5 separate regions of the Homo sapiens genome follow, and all the other regions are linked to region 5. The links are contacts of gene promoters, found by promoter capture Hi-C in blood cells and fetal thymus (Javierre and others, 2016). All regions are on one chromosome and are shown on one strand. The core of a region is centred on a gene start or on the middle of the fragment in contact, and the rest is flanking DNA. Distances in the headings are between cores, read along the strand shown.

Region 1 (2,852 bases), core at 289-2,788, 130 kb before region 5:
CTGTGCACGCATTGTCATTTATAAACATCTTAACAGGGTTCAAGAGCAGAGAACTGGTCTGACTAGAGTTCGCCAGGCTGGAATTTCCTAATCCTAGCAAGCCTGGGGGCGCTGCAGGAGACTAGGGTGTGTTTCATCCCTATCTACATGTGCATAAGGCAGACACTCCCAGGGCAGCCATTTTAGAGGCACTGCCCTGGGAATGCATTATTTTCCCAGGGCTGTTAATTATTAATATTCCTTACTGGGGAAAGAATTCAGCGATATTTCTCTTACCCGTTTTTGGTAATAGGAGAAATATGGCTCTGTCCTGCCCGTCCCACAGGCAGCCAGACTTTAAGGTTATCTCCCTTGTTCCCTGAAAATCGCTGTTATCCTGTTCTTAAGGTGCCCAGATTTCATATTGTTCAAACACACATGCCCTACAAACAATCTGTGCAGTTAACGCAATCATCACAGGGTCCTGAGATGACATACATCCTCAGCTTACGAAGATGACAGGATTAAGAGATTAAAGTAAAGTCAGGCATAGGAAATCACAAGAGTATTGATTGGGGAAGCGATACATGTCCATGAAATCTTCACAATTTATGTTCAGAGATTGCAGTAAAGACAGGCATAAGAAATTATAAAAGTATTAATTTGGGGAACTAATAAATGTCCATGAAATCTTCACAATTAATGTTCTTCTGTCACGGCTTCAGCAGGTCCCTCCGTTCGGGGTCCCTGACTTCCTGCAACAATGTAGTGTTATTTTTCCCATTTTATTTACTGGATTTCAATGAGAGTCCCTGCTGTAAAGTTGGAGCCAGCATTGGAGTCCCCAGAGGGCTTGTTAAAACAGAGAAGGAGGCCTGGCACCATGGCTCACTCCTGCAATTCCCAACACTTTGGGAGGCCGAGGTGAGAGGATCACTTGAGCTCAGGAGTTTGAGACCAGCCTAGGCATCACAGGGAGATCCAGTCTCTACAAAAAATTTTAAAATTAGCTGTGTATGATGGTGCACGCCTGTATCCCATCTACCTGGTAGGCTGAGGCAGGAGGATAGCTTGAGCCCGAGATGGAGGCTGCAGTGAGCTATGATCAGGCCACTGCACTCCAGCCTGGACAACAGAACGAGACCCATCCCCCCCGCCCCCCCCGCAAAAAGTAGAGAAGGCTGAATCCCATCCCCAGAATTTCTGAGTCCTTAGATTTAAGTTGTTGCCCCAGAACCTGCATTTTCAGCCAGTCCCCAGGTGATGCTGATGTTGCTGGTTTGAGAAGCCCTGAATCAGAGCGACATTTAATATTACAACGCAAAGACCCCGCCCATTGGGTACTATCCCCATTTTCCAGTGTGAATTTAGGTCCCTTAGGGGTGAAGCGGCTGGCCGATGCCCACACGCGCAGGAAGAGCACTGGGGCTCTCCTCCTGGACCTCGGAGGGTGGGCGGGGTTTAGCGCGGGCGGCTGCAGGCTCGGGAGCGGCCCCTTTAAGGGGAAGGCCCGAGGGCTGCAGGCGGCGGCGGTGGAGACCCGACGAGATCCGCTCTCCTTCCCGCCCTGGACCCTCAGCCTGACGAGAGGCTGGGCAGAAACTCGCGATCCCCAGGCCCTGCCTGTGCACCAGCGGCTGGCGCCAGGCCAATGACAGTACGGGAGAGGGCAACTCTCCCGGCCGCCACGGTGGGGGCCGGAACTTCCTGCACTGCAGCCTCGCAGGTCATTTCCCGGCGGGGAGGCTGAGTCCCCAGGAGCTGGGGACCCCGAGTTGGGGGCGGGGCGGCTGGGGCTACGCCCGTGAAGCTGCCCCGCCGGCTTTCCCGGACCGCGAGGGGGACAGTGAGGCCGGGACCCCCTCCGCGCCTTTGCACCAGCCGTGACCCCTTGCAACGGGGGTACCCAGCGGAGCTGCGCGCTCTCGGCGCCCCCGGAGCCTGCGCCCCGGGCCCCTTGCGCATTTTGCACGGGGGAGACTGAGGCTAGGAGTGCGACCCTCAGCCCGGGGTCACACCTCGTCTGGGGCACGGCCAGGTGGGTGGTAGCCTCAGCCTGCGAGACCCCCTACCCCCGCCCCGTGGTTTCCCGCACCGTGGGGCCCTGCTCTGACCACAGACTCCGATGGCAGCGGCGGCGCTGCGGGACCCCGCGCAGGTGAGTGCTTGGACGTTAGGCCCTTCGCTGTCGGCCCCCCACGCTTCTGTTCTCGGTGTTGAGACGCAAAAGATGGCTTTGTTCTAGGACTTTTCGCCTTTCCCATTTCCTTGCTTTTGAGTCAGGGGACCCTGGAAGGGAGTTGCTCCCAGCTAGGATCCTGAATCAGGGCAGGGTTTATATAAAGTGGCTTCCGTTGCTGAAATGTAATGGGATGGAGGGAGAAAGGGCTTTGTAGGCACAGGAACCAGCGTGCGCAAAAGCTTGGGGGTGGGGTGGGGCACGGTGTGGAGACTGAGTTGGGAGTGTTCAAGGAACCCCACCCAGGTCAGTGTTATTAATATTATGTCTGCTGGAACCAGAGAGCAGGTGGGCTGAAGACAGCTCAGAACGGCAGAGCTGGGCCTCTGTTCTGAGGGTGTTGGGAGCCATGGAAGGTTTAGGGCAGAGGAGGAAGATGCTGTGACTCAGGTCTTAACAGGCTCCCTGTGGATGCACAGTGGAGAACTGAATATGGAGTGAGCCGCAAGCAGGGATGCCAAGGAGTAGCCTAATGGAATAGCCCAGGCCAGTGCTGCGGCTGGCCGGACCAGAGTGAGGACTGGAGGTAGAGGAAGTGATTGGGAACTTGATGTCTTTTAAGTCAAGCTGACCAAATTTTCCGATGTGGAGGGTGAGAAAGAGGAGGGAAGAATCCATGGTTTTTGGTTTGATG
Region 2 (2,700 bases), core at 1-2,500, 190 kb after region 5:
ATCTTTCCTAGATCTAGACTAGGAAAGATCTAGCAGGGTCCCTTCAAAATATGTCAAAGAAATATATTTTTGGGGTAAAATGATTTCTCTTAACTGGTCCTTGTTTCTAGTGCTGGAACTTGACTTTCTGCAGCTGCAGGAGTTTTAGTCGACATAAGAGGGGCCAAGAGTTGGTCAAACCTAACAGAAGATCAACCAAAACTAGAAATAGAAAAGGTGATCACCCAATTTACATACTGTCAAGATCTTTGAGCATAAAGAGAAGTTATAGCCATCTGGCAAACGACCTTGACCTTCCGCTACCAAATTCCAAAACGAAACTCCAAACCAGCTCCACGAGGACTCAAGATATGGAGACAGCCTCAGGCCAAATTTAGTTCAATTTGCCAATTCCCCACTTTGGGTCAGCCATTGGATTTTGACATAGTGACCAAAACCCTGGGCATTGACACTGTCTGTCACCATTGTATTAGACTTACTTGGCCTCAGCACGGAATTCACAAGTCATGATGTCAGATCAGTTAAATAATTGTATTCTTGCTGATCTAGCCAAAGGGAGACCATTCAGTGCACAATGGATGTCTGCATACACACATTTAAGATTTGACAGGATACAGTGCACCAGGGGGACTATTACGATGACTACCAGAAAATAATACCAAGAGACCAAAGTGTACTCCTTCACAGGAGGCCCTATGAACAAAACCAGTCAAAACCAAACAAGTCAAAGTCCAGGCATATAAGCAGCTCAATAGTATTTGAGTCCAATTGGTCATAATCTTTGTTTGGGGTGTGATGGTGATTAAGTATTCACCATCACACCCCGAATATATTCAATAATAAGTCAGGTTGCTGGGCTAGGGCATTAATAGTACCTATAAAGAAGGAAAAATTGAGAAGGGGAGACCTCAAATTAGTTTCCTTAGGAGATATAACCAAGTGGTGATAACTTCACTTTCCCAACCTTTTTAAAGTTGTATGAGCTCTAAGTCCCTGCATTTATAATTTCACATCTGGAAAAAAATAATAATAAAGAGGTATCAGTTTATGTCATTAGCCTGGTACTGTAAGTCATAGTAACCTGGAGACCCACCAGAAAAAAACATAAAGATTCAAAAACCCTGGAAAAGCTAAGCTTGCCATTCATGAAAAGTTTTGGACATCGATAGTGGTGATGGTGGCACAACATCGTGAATGTACTTAATGCCACTGAACTATACACTTAACATAGTTAAAATGATTAACTTCATGCTATGTATATTTTACCAGAGTTAAAAAAAATTTTTTTTCTTCATCTATTGAAATTTTCTTCATGTATTTGATAAAAGTATCTAAAGAAATAGCCACCTTTTAAATTAAGCTTTCCATAGTAGCAAAATCAGGGGAAGTGTAGATACAGCACTCAGTTTGATTCAGCACAAGTCCCCAACATGATCAAAATGATGTAAAGCTGCATGAGGCTGGGTGCAGGGGCTCACACCTGTAATCCCAGTACTTTGGGAGGCCAAGATGAGAGGATCACTTGAGCCCAGGAGTTTGAGACCAGCCTGGGCAACATAGGGAGACCCTGTCTCTATTTAAAAAAAAAAAGAGAAATTAAAAATTAGCCAGGTCTGGTGCACACCTGTGATCCCAGATACTCAGGAGGCTGAGGTGGGGGGATCCCTTGAGTCCAGGAGGTCGAGGCTGCAGTGAGCCCCACTGTATTCCCACCTGGGTGACACAGCAAGACCTTATCTCAAATAAATTAAGCTGCATGATATTCTATTAAGTGTTTTGTTAGATGCATAGGTTATCATCTACCTTTTGGAGGGTGGCTTCTACTGAACCACTGGAAGGTTTGGTTGGCCATAAAGTCCAAGATTTTCCCCAATTTATGGATCTGTTCTGAATTCCACACTACCAGCACCCTACTACCACCAAGAGCAAGCCCTCAGGAACCCCACTGGAACCTTTCCTCAGTAGAAACTAGCTTATCTTAGTCTCTTTCAAGGCCGATGATCATTTTGTTTACTGTTTTGGCCTCTGATTATGGAAGGTATTATGGGAACTGTCAGAGGAAGCTATTCAAAAGGCAGGAGTGAGACCCATCAAAGAGCAAGATCTAAACCAGTGAAGAGGAAGAAAGGGTAAGCAAATTCTCTGCGGACCCAAGATAGGTCCTCAAGCATTGGAAAAGAGCGCCTCCTGGTGGTGTTTGAGCAGAAGTAAGTTAAATTTGACCTGTAAGCCTGATGGCTCCTGAACAAAGTTCAGTGGGAAAATTCTTTGTGGTCCCTTTACAGCATGCTGTTAAGGTGTATAACCACATGAAGAAGGACCCTACTGGATTTGTTCTGGTGACATTATATAGCAATTACTTATGATACTATGCACGAATAGCCTGCATACATAGTCCCCAGATCTTGAGTATGTGATGCCTGGAAGCATAATACATCTTTTGCAGGCATCACTCGAATGTGTTTTCTATATTTGGTAGTGATTAGGTTACTAATTGGAAAGGTTAGGATATTGTTTCCAGCAAGTGTAGGAAAACAAGTGGTAGTGATGTCTAGAATATCAAGATAGCTTTCTGTTCTTCCTTTGGAGCGTCAGGGTGAATTGGGAACACAGGGAGGCATTGGCATTTGTGAAATTGCTTCTTGAGTTTTTGGCATTAACCCACAAGCCCAAGGATTACTCAAGTTTTTTGCTACAGAA
Region 3 (2,724 bases), core at 174-2,673, 170 kb after region 5:
ATTTTGTGGTGTAATGAGGTTGAGGCCTCTTCATATGTTTATCAGTCATTTAGTGAAATGTGAGTAGAAGGCTTTTTCCGCACTTTTATTGTTTTTTTTTGTTTGTTTGTTTGTTTGTTTGTTTTTTTGGAGACAGGGTCTCTCTCAGCCGCCCAGGCTAAAGTACAGTGGCATGATCTCGGTTCACTGCAGCCTCAACCTCCTGAGCTCAAGCGATCCTCCTGTTTCAGCCTCCTGAGTAGCTGGAACTACAGGCACATACCACTGTGCCTGGCTAATTTTTGTATTTTCAGTAGAGACGGATTTCACCATGTTGCCCAGGCTGGTCTTGAACTCCTGTGCCTTGGCCTCCCAATGTGCTAAAGGAGTTCTTTATATTTTCTTGATAAGAGCCCTTGTTTGGTTATTTGTGGGAAATGTGTTCCCCAACACTGTGGATCAGCTTTGTATTTTCCTTATGGTTTTTAATGAGCAGAAGTTTAAAGTTTAATATAATTAAATTTATCAATGTTATACTTTATGCTTCATGTTGTGTGTGTGTGTGTGTGTGTGTGTTGTTTAAAAAACATTTTTATCTCTTTATTGTTATTTTTAATATGGTTTTATTCCTTTGGAAAAAAGATTCTCATGTCATGGTCATAAAGATATTCTTCTACATAAAGATTTGTAAAGTCTTTATTGTTTTGGATTGCCCATTGAGGTCTCTAAAGTACATGGAATGGACTTTTACGTGAAGTGTGGGTAAGAACTCCCTTTCTTTTTAATTATATAGATTCCCTGCTGTCCCAGTTTAGGACAGGGTTGTGTAATCTTTTGGCTTCCACGGGCCACACTGAAAGAAGAAGAATTGTTTTGGGTCACACATAAAATACACTAACATGGCCCGGCGCGGTGGCTCACACCTGTAATCCCAGCACTTTGGGAGGCCAAGGCAGGTGGATTACGAGATCAAGAGATTAAGACCATTCTGGCCAACATGGTGAAAGCTCCTCTCCACTAAAAATACAAAAAAATTAGCTTGGAGTGGTGGCACACACATGTAGTCCTAGCTACTTGGGAGGCTGAGGCAGGAGAATTGCTTGAACCTGGGAGGCAGAGGTTACGATGAGCCGAGATCAGGCCACTGCACTCCAGCCTGGTGACAGAGCAAGACTCCATCTCAAAAAAATTAAATTAAATTAAAAAAAAATACACTAACACTAACAATAGCTAATGAGCTAAAAAAAAAAATCACAGAAAAACTCATAATGTTTTTAAAAAGTTTACAAATTTGTGTTGGGCCACATTCAAAGCTGTCCTGGGCTGCATGGGGCCTGCAGGCCGCAGGTTGGACAAGCTTGGTTTAAGAGAAGATGGCCCTTATTCCATTATTCTCAGTGTCCCTTTTGTCAACAACCAAGTGCCCCATAGAGGGACATAGTTTGCTTCTGGGTTCCCTATTTCATGTCGCTGGTCTCTTTGTCTGTCTCTATGCCAGTGTGGCACTGCGTTGAGTACACACTAAAGCTTTACTTAGTTCTTGACTCTGGCAGAGGGAGTCCTTCTACTTTGGCCTTGTTCCTAGAATGTCTTTGCTGGTTTTGGCCCTCTACAGTGCCAGATGTTTAGAAACAGCTTTTTGAATTCAATTTGGAGAGAACTGAAATTTTGATAATATTGAATATTCCTCTCCATAACACTGGTACATGTTGCCATTTATTTTGGTCTCCCTTATTTTATCACAATAATTTTTTACATATGTATTTCTTTTTTTTAATGTCATTGCACGTTTATTTATTTATTTTTTTATTATACTTTGAGTTCTAGGGTACATGTGCATAACATGCAGGTTTGTTACATAGGTATACATGTGCCATGTTGGTTTACTGCACCCATCAACTCATCGCCTACATTAAGTATTTCTCCTAATGGTATCCCTACCCCAGCCCCCCACCCCCGACAGGCCCCGACATGTGATATTCCCTGCCCTGTGTCCATGTGTTCTCATTGTTCAACTCCCACCTATGAGTGAGAATATGTGGTGTTTGGCTTTCTGTCCTTGTGATAATTTGCTGAGAATGATGGTTTCCAGCTTCATCCATGTCCCTGCAAAGGACATGCACTCATCCATTCTTATGGCTGCATAGTATTCCATGGTGTATATGTGCCACATTTTCTTAATCCATTCTATCATTGATGGACATTTGGGTTGGTTCCAAGTCTTTGCTATTGTGAATAGTGCTGCAATAAACATATGTGTACATGTGTCTTTATAGTAGAGTGATTTATAATTCTTTGGGTATATACCCAGTAAAGGGATCGCTGGGTCAAATGGTATTTCTAGTTCTAGATCCTTGAGGAATCGCCACACTGTCTTCCACAATGGTTGAACTAATTTACTCTTCAACCAACAATGTAAAAGCATTCCTATTTCTCCACATCCTCTCCAACATCTGTTGTTTCCTGATTTTTAATGATCGCCATTCTAACTGGTATCTCACTGTGGTTTTGATTTGCATTTCTCTGATGACCAGTGATGATGAGCATTTTTTCATATATCTGTTGGCTGCATAAATGTCTTCTTTTGAGAAGTGTCTGGTCATATCCTTTGCCCACTTTTTGATGGGGTTGTTTGCTTTTTTCTTGTAAATTTGTTTAAGTTCTTTGTAGATTCTGGATATTAGCCCTTTGTCAGATGGGTAGATTACGAAAATTTTCTCCAATTCTGTAGGTTGCTTGTTCACT
Region 4 (2,700 bases), core at 93-2,592, 210 kb after region 5:
ATTTTTTAGCTGAAAGGGGATATAGGGTTTCAAAATTTAAGGCTCAGCTCTTTCAAACTTCAGTAAAGTACCTATATCTAGTCCTGTCAGAAGGAACAAGAGCACTAGGTAAGGAAATGATTAAGCCCATTTCCTCTTTGCCCTTCCCAAAATGCTTAAACATCTGAAGGGATTCTTAGGCATTATTGAATTTTGCAAACTAGGAATACCCAGGTACAGTGAGATAACTCGCCCTTTATACCACCTCATAAAAGAAATGCAAGCAGCTAAAACTCAGTCCCTGACTTGGGAACCTGGGGCTCAAAAAGGCTTTAACCAGTTAAAACAAGCCTTGCTTAAAGCACCAGCCCTTAGTCTTCCCATAGGAAAGACATTCAGTCTCTATGTAGCAAAAAGGAAGAGAATGGCCCTGGGAGTTTTAACTCAGGCTCAAGGTCCAGCTCAACAGCCAGTAGGTTACCTAAGCAAGGAGCTTGAGTTGATGGCTAAAGTACGGCCAGCTTGCCTCTGAGCAGTTACAGCAGTGGCTTTACTGGTGTCAGTGGCCACCAAGTTAACCATGAGGAATGACTTAACTGTATATAACCCACATAATGCGGCAGAACTGCTGTCTTCTAAGAGAAGTCCCTGGCCAACAGATAATCACCTCCTCAAAGATCAGGCTCTGCTGTTAGAGGAATCTACAGTCCAGTTAAAAAAACCTGTCCTTGCCTGAACCCAGACACTTTCCTCCCAGAGGAAACTGAAGAACCTGAATATGGCTTTGAACAGTCATGCAAACCTATGCAGCCAAGGAGGACCTCAAAGAAACTCCCCTAGAAAACCCAGAAGCCAGACATGCTGGTAAAAGGATAAAAGTTTTTTTACAGTCAGACTTTTGGCCTCTCTGTCCCTGTGCAAACCAGTGAAAGGAATGATAAGAATCATTGTTTATATTCCCTGTAAAGTTTTAATTAATGAAAAAGGATATTCTTAAAGAATGCTCAGCTTAATTAAAAGAGGATATCCAAGTTATAGATATATTTAAAAGATTTTTATGTTTTTCTCTCCTTGGATCTTGTTTTTCTGAAAAGGTTTTTTTTTTTCTCAGTTGACTAAATTACTTTTCTCCACTTTGTCTTGCCAGTCAGTGCATGTATGAAAGGCCCTAGATAGCTTCTGATGGCCTGGGACTCCTTGGGGAAAAAAAAAAAATGCCAAGGATTCCATTTTGTGAGACATCTCTCTTTTCCTCATGAAACCCCAAGAATTAGAGGTGAATATAACCCACTCAAAATCTCTTTTTGCCTTTCAGGTATGCCTGTTTATTAGGCCCTAGAAACTGTATGCTTTCCTAGCCCTGTTCTTAAAGAGCTCCACCCTGAGGCCAATAATCCAATTAGAAAATTGACGAACAAAAAAACCTTACAACTGCTGGGTTTTCTTCTGTCTGTGTAGTCATATATATGTTATGTGTGTAATGGTTATACAAAAAAAGTTATAATTAACTGGCTTTAAAAATAAGCACTTAGATAAAATATTTTTTGAAGGAAAAATAAAAGCTGTAATGCCTTTTACTTCATGCGACTTTAATCTTTCAGGAATAGGAACACTATTTAAGGATTATAAATAAGGAATAGGAACATTCTCTTTTTTTTGCATATAGCTTGAATTTATTTTGAAAGTTTTCCCAGTATACATTCTCATAAACATAATTACTGATTTCAAGTATTGGAACATTCTCTTTTTTTGCATATAGATTGAATTTATTTTGAAAGTTTTCCCAGTATACATTCTCATAATTACTGATTTCAAGTATTTTTGTAACTTTTGACATTATTGCCAAATGGTGTGATGTTAATACTATAAGATTTGCCCCATCTCCATCGCTGCTGGAACATCTCATGGCCCCAATTTCACTGCCAACTCATTGGAACTATGAATTATAATTTAAATGCTTTTTCCTAGGCAGAAAATTCATCTGACTTTTTAAAATATATACTTTAAGTTCTAGGGTACATGTGCACAACGTGCAGGTTTGTTACATATGTATACATGTTCCATGTTGGTGTGCTGCACCCATTAACTTGTCATTTACATTAGGTATATCTCCTAATGCAATCCCTCCCCCCTCCCCCCACCCTGGTGTGTGATGTACCCCACCCTATGTCCAAGTGTTCTCATTGTTCAATTCCCACCTATGAGTGAGAACATGCAGTGTTTGGTTTTCTGTCCTTGCAATAGTTTGCTCAGAATGATGGTTTCCAGCTTCATCCATGTCCCTACAAAGGACATGAACTCATCCTTTTTTATGGCTGCATAATATTCCATGGTGTATATGTGCCACATTTTCTTAATCTAGTCTATCATTGATGGACATTTGGGTTGGTTCCAAGTCTTTGCTATTGTGAATAGTGCCACAATAAACATATGTGTACATGTGTCTTTATAGTAAAGTGATTTATAATTCTTTGGGTATATACCTGGGTCATTTCCAATTAAGAAAAGATTATTATATTGAGAACACGTTCCAAAATTGTAGAATGGTGCTCATCTATAAAATGCTAGTATCTGATAGGCAATTTAGGATTTCTTGCTTCCTGGGTTTACATAAAATGTGCCAAGGAAAATGTGTTCTATTTTTTTTTAAAAAAGAATAATTTTATCTAATTCAAAAGTTATCTAAAAGTTAATTCCAGTTGTGCACTTGAAAAGGTTATT
Region 5 (2,912 bases), core at 88-2,587:
CAGGACACATGGTAGGGTTCCATTTATATAAAGTTTTTAAATAGGCAAAACTAATCTATAATGTTAAAAATTTGGGAGGGGCATAGTGACTAGGAATGAGCATGAGGTTGATTCTGAGGTGCCTGTGTTTTGCTTCTTGATCTAGATTACATAGGTTTGTTCATTCTGCAAAAATGTATTGAGGAATAGACAGATGATTTGTACACTTCTGTGTATGAATGTTATATTGTAAAGTTTCTTGAAGAATACCTGTTTACAAGAGTTAGAGAACATGGAAGCTCTTTCTCTGAGATAAAACATCTAAAAAGACAAAAATTAGCCGGGCGTGGTGGTGGGTGCCTGTAATCCCAGCTACTCGGGAGGCTGAGGCAGGAGAATGTCTTGAACCCGGGAGACAGAGGTTCTAGTGAACCAAGATCACACCACTGCACTCCAGCCTGGATGACAGAGGAAGACTCTGAGACTCCGTCACAAAAAAGAAAAAACAAACAAACAAACAAACAAAAAAGCCCTAAGTCATATCATGCCAGTCTCAGCAGTTTGAAACCCTCCATGGTTCCCATCTCTCAGTAAAAGGCAACGTTCTTATGACATCCTTCAAGGCCCCATGTAGTCTTTTGGTCCCTCTCCATCTCTGTCCTCCTGTCATCCACGTCTCCCACGTGCTGATTGGGTCTGGTAGGGTGACTGGGTGGCAAAGACCTCACAGAGGTGCCTTTCTGCTCAGGTGGCAAACAGGAGAGTCTATCTGGGCCCTGCAGGATGGATCCTTCCTGAGTCACTGAATATATTGGAGGTGCAGACAGCGCCAGAGAAAGGCATTGAGCCTGCCAGATCAGACACCGCCTCTTAGGGTCGACGGAACACCCAGGAGCAAAGACCAGAAATTGTGGGAGAAAGGCCTGGAAGGGGGCCGGGGAGAGGCACAGAGACAGCGAGGTGATGCAGGCTTGGTGGGAGCGGGTATGGTAGGCAATGGGGGACAGAGGGGCAGGGCACAGACAAAGCTTGCTGAAGATATGAAGAGCAATTGTGAGCCGGCGAATCCTTGGAGTAGAGGAGAAAATTGAGGTCTCCTGTTCAGCCCGATGCAGGTGAGATGCTGTTGGAACACGTGACAGAGAAAGGGTGTGTGAGCCCAGGGCTTGTGCACTAAGCGCACAGGAGCGAAGGGGGCGAGAAGAAAAAACGACGCCCAGCAAAGAGCGTCAAGGCCCAACCGCCTGCCCCCAACCGGTCTCTAGCGCCTCGTGACCTTCTGCACTCCGTTGCAGGCGTTTGGCACCAGATGGTCCCACGCGCTCTGTTCGACGGTTGGGGGCCGCGGACGCTGGTTGTCAGCAGCACTGGGTCAGCCGGTGAACGGGTGTGCAGCGTCCTCAGCGCCGCAGCAGTCAGCACCTGTGGGTGCTCTAGCTCTTTCCCTCGGGGTCACCGGAGGCAGAGCCTCCCCTACGCGGAGTAGAGGAGCAGCTCACATGGTGCGGGGGTGGGGATCGGGCTTCCTGGAAGGCTGGAAATGGGAGTTGGGATAAGGGGTTGGCGAGGGCGGGGCGGCACCGTCTACCGGGGTGACCGGTGTGCCCTGGCAGCCAGGGAGTCTGCTGCAGGGCAGGTATTAAGATTCGGAGAGACATAGGACAAAGAACCCTCGGCCTCTTCTTTTCAGGCAGCCGCCACAGAGGACACCAGATCATGCCAACACCCCCACAACTCCTGCCCGCCTGCAGGCAGCTCTGGGCTCAGGACACCGCCTGCAAGAACCTTTATAGCGCAGCTCTCCAAACCTTGGAGGCGAGGACATTCTATGTGCCCGCCCTGGAAAGGCCTGAACCTATAACATCTGGGCTGTGATGGTTTCTGAGGTGGACACCAGGTATTCTAAACTGCCCACATGCTTCACCCCAAAACTTCCCTTTCTAACAGGCAGTGTATTTTCACTTCTTTTAAAATATTTGGTAAAACAGCATTTAAGCCTTAGAAAGTTCCCCATCTCACCCCAGCCAGGGTTTGAACCCATGCTGTCTGATTCCACAGATCATGCATTTAACCACCAGACTTTGGTGTAGCCTCACCGTGTGTGCATAATGGATTACACTTGTTTATAATACTTGGGGTGCTTAGCACCATGTCAGAGCTGTAATGAGTACTTGCACTGTTAGGAGGTCTAACATGGTTCAATTTATAAGTGGACCATTGGCCACACCGGGTCTGGCTCAGTCTCCTGGGAGGATGTAGGCAGGGACCACCAATTATCAGCATATCTCCATGATGAATTTCTCCAGACAGCGTATCACTCTGTCACACAGGCTGGAGTCACAGCTCACTGCAACCTCGAACTCCTGGGCTCAAGAGATCCTCCCACCTCAGCTTCCCAAGTAGCTGAGACTGCAGGCATGCGCCACCACGCCTGATAATTTCTCTTCTAATTGAGCTTTGCAGAAAGCCACACAGCTGTCTGAGAGCTATTTTCTCCCAGGTATAGGGACAGGAAATGGCACCTCAGACTTCTGCAGATTCCACCCTGGCTTAAAAGCCCATGCCCCCAAGGACACCAATCTTTCTTACAATAACATAGACTATCTTTCAGGGTCCTGGCCAAGATGGACAACTTGCCAATATTAACTTTTCCAGGCCACAGGGATGATATATATCTCCATAGATTTAGGTCTTGAGTATTTTCTCCTAGAAATATTTCGCAGCAAGGGTCAGCACTGCAGCCTATGGGCCAACAAATTTAGCCTGTAGCCTACATGTAAGGCCAGTGAGTGAAGGATCCTATTAACAATTTTAAAGAGTTGCAGCAGAATACACAGAAACACAAAGAGTCTGTGTCACAGACAACGTGACCCACAAAGGCTATGCTACTTATTAGGCTGGTGCAAAAGTAATTGTGGTTTTTGCCATTACTT

What was found. Contacts are between HindIII fragments. The CHiCAGO score rates a contact against its expected background, and 5 or more counts as called.
Region 1: the fragment with the promoter of ZNF792 here is called in contact with the fragment with the promoter of LINC01801 in region 5 in 13 of 17 cell types (naive CD8 T cells, total CD4 T cells, non-activated CD4 T cells and 10 more); the score reaches 22.5 in naive CD8 T cells.
Region 2: a fragment that was not itself captured here is called in contact with the fragment with the promoter of LINC01801 in region 5 in 3 of 17 cell types (megakaryocytes, erythroblasts and M1 macrophages); the score reaches 8.0 in megakaryocytes.
Region 3: a contact is called between a fragment that was not itself captured here and the fragment with the promoter of LINC01801 in region 5, in 1 of 17 cell types (M1 macrophages). The highest score is 6.2, in M1 macrophages.
Region 4: a contact is called between a fragment that was not itself captured here and the fragment with the promoter of LINC01801 in region 5, in 1 of 17 cell types (M2 macrophages). The highest score is 5.3, in M2 macrophages.

Annotation. Positions count from the first base shown.
Region 1 is chr19:34,962,915-34,965,766 of GRCh38, reverse strand. It overlaps ZNF792 (zinc finger protein 792), which reads left to right and starts at 1,538. Exons shown (of 4, transcript NM_175872.5): 1 at 1,538-2,137. The coding sequence starts at 2,105. It overlaps LOC124904699 (a long non-coding RNA gene), which reads right to left and starts at 2,341. Exons shown (of 2, transcript XR_007067236.1): 1 at 2,094-2,341. RefSeq lists silencers at 1,777-2,036, 2,147-2,196. The HindIII fragment of the contact is 6,406 bases long and covers 1-2,402 here.
Region 2 is chr19:34,639,169-34,641,868 of GRCh38, reverse strand. All of the region lies in intron 1 of SCGB2B2 (secretoglobin family 2B member 2), which reads left to right. It also overlaps the pseudogene ZNF807P and the pseudogene SCGB1B2P. Among named protein-coding and RNA genes, the nearest start is that of SCGB2B2, 37 kb to the left of the region's middle. The HindIII fragment of the contact is 225 bases long and covers 1,138-1,362 here.
Region 3 is chr19:34,660,336-34,663,059 of GRCh38, reverse strand. All of the region lies in intron 1 of SCGB2B2 (secretoglobin family 2B member 2), which reads left to right. It also overlaps the pseudogene ZNF807P and the pseudogene SCGB1B2P. Among named protein-coding and RNA genes, the nearest start is that of SCGB2B2, 15 kb to the left of the region's middle. The HindIII fragment of the contact is 170 bases long and covers 1,339-1,508 here.
Region 4 is chr19:34,619,940-34,622,639 of GRCh38, reverse strand. All of the region lies in intron 1 of SCGB2B2 (secretoglobin family 2B member 2), which reads left to right. It also overlaps the pseudogene ZNF807P and the pseudogene SCGB1B2P. Among named protein-coding and RNA genes, the nearest start is that of SCGB2B2, 56 kb to the left of the region's middle. The HindIII fragment of the contact is 2,831 bases long and covers 1-2,700 here.
Region 5 is chr19:34,831,294-34,834,205 of GRCh38, reverse strand. LINC01801 (long intergenic non-protein coding RNA 1801) reads left to right here and starts at 1,337. Exons shown (of 6, transcript NR_033982.1): 1 at 1,337-1,481; 2 at 1,670-1,876. The HindIII fragment of the contact is 2,823 bases long and covers 1,010-2,912 here.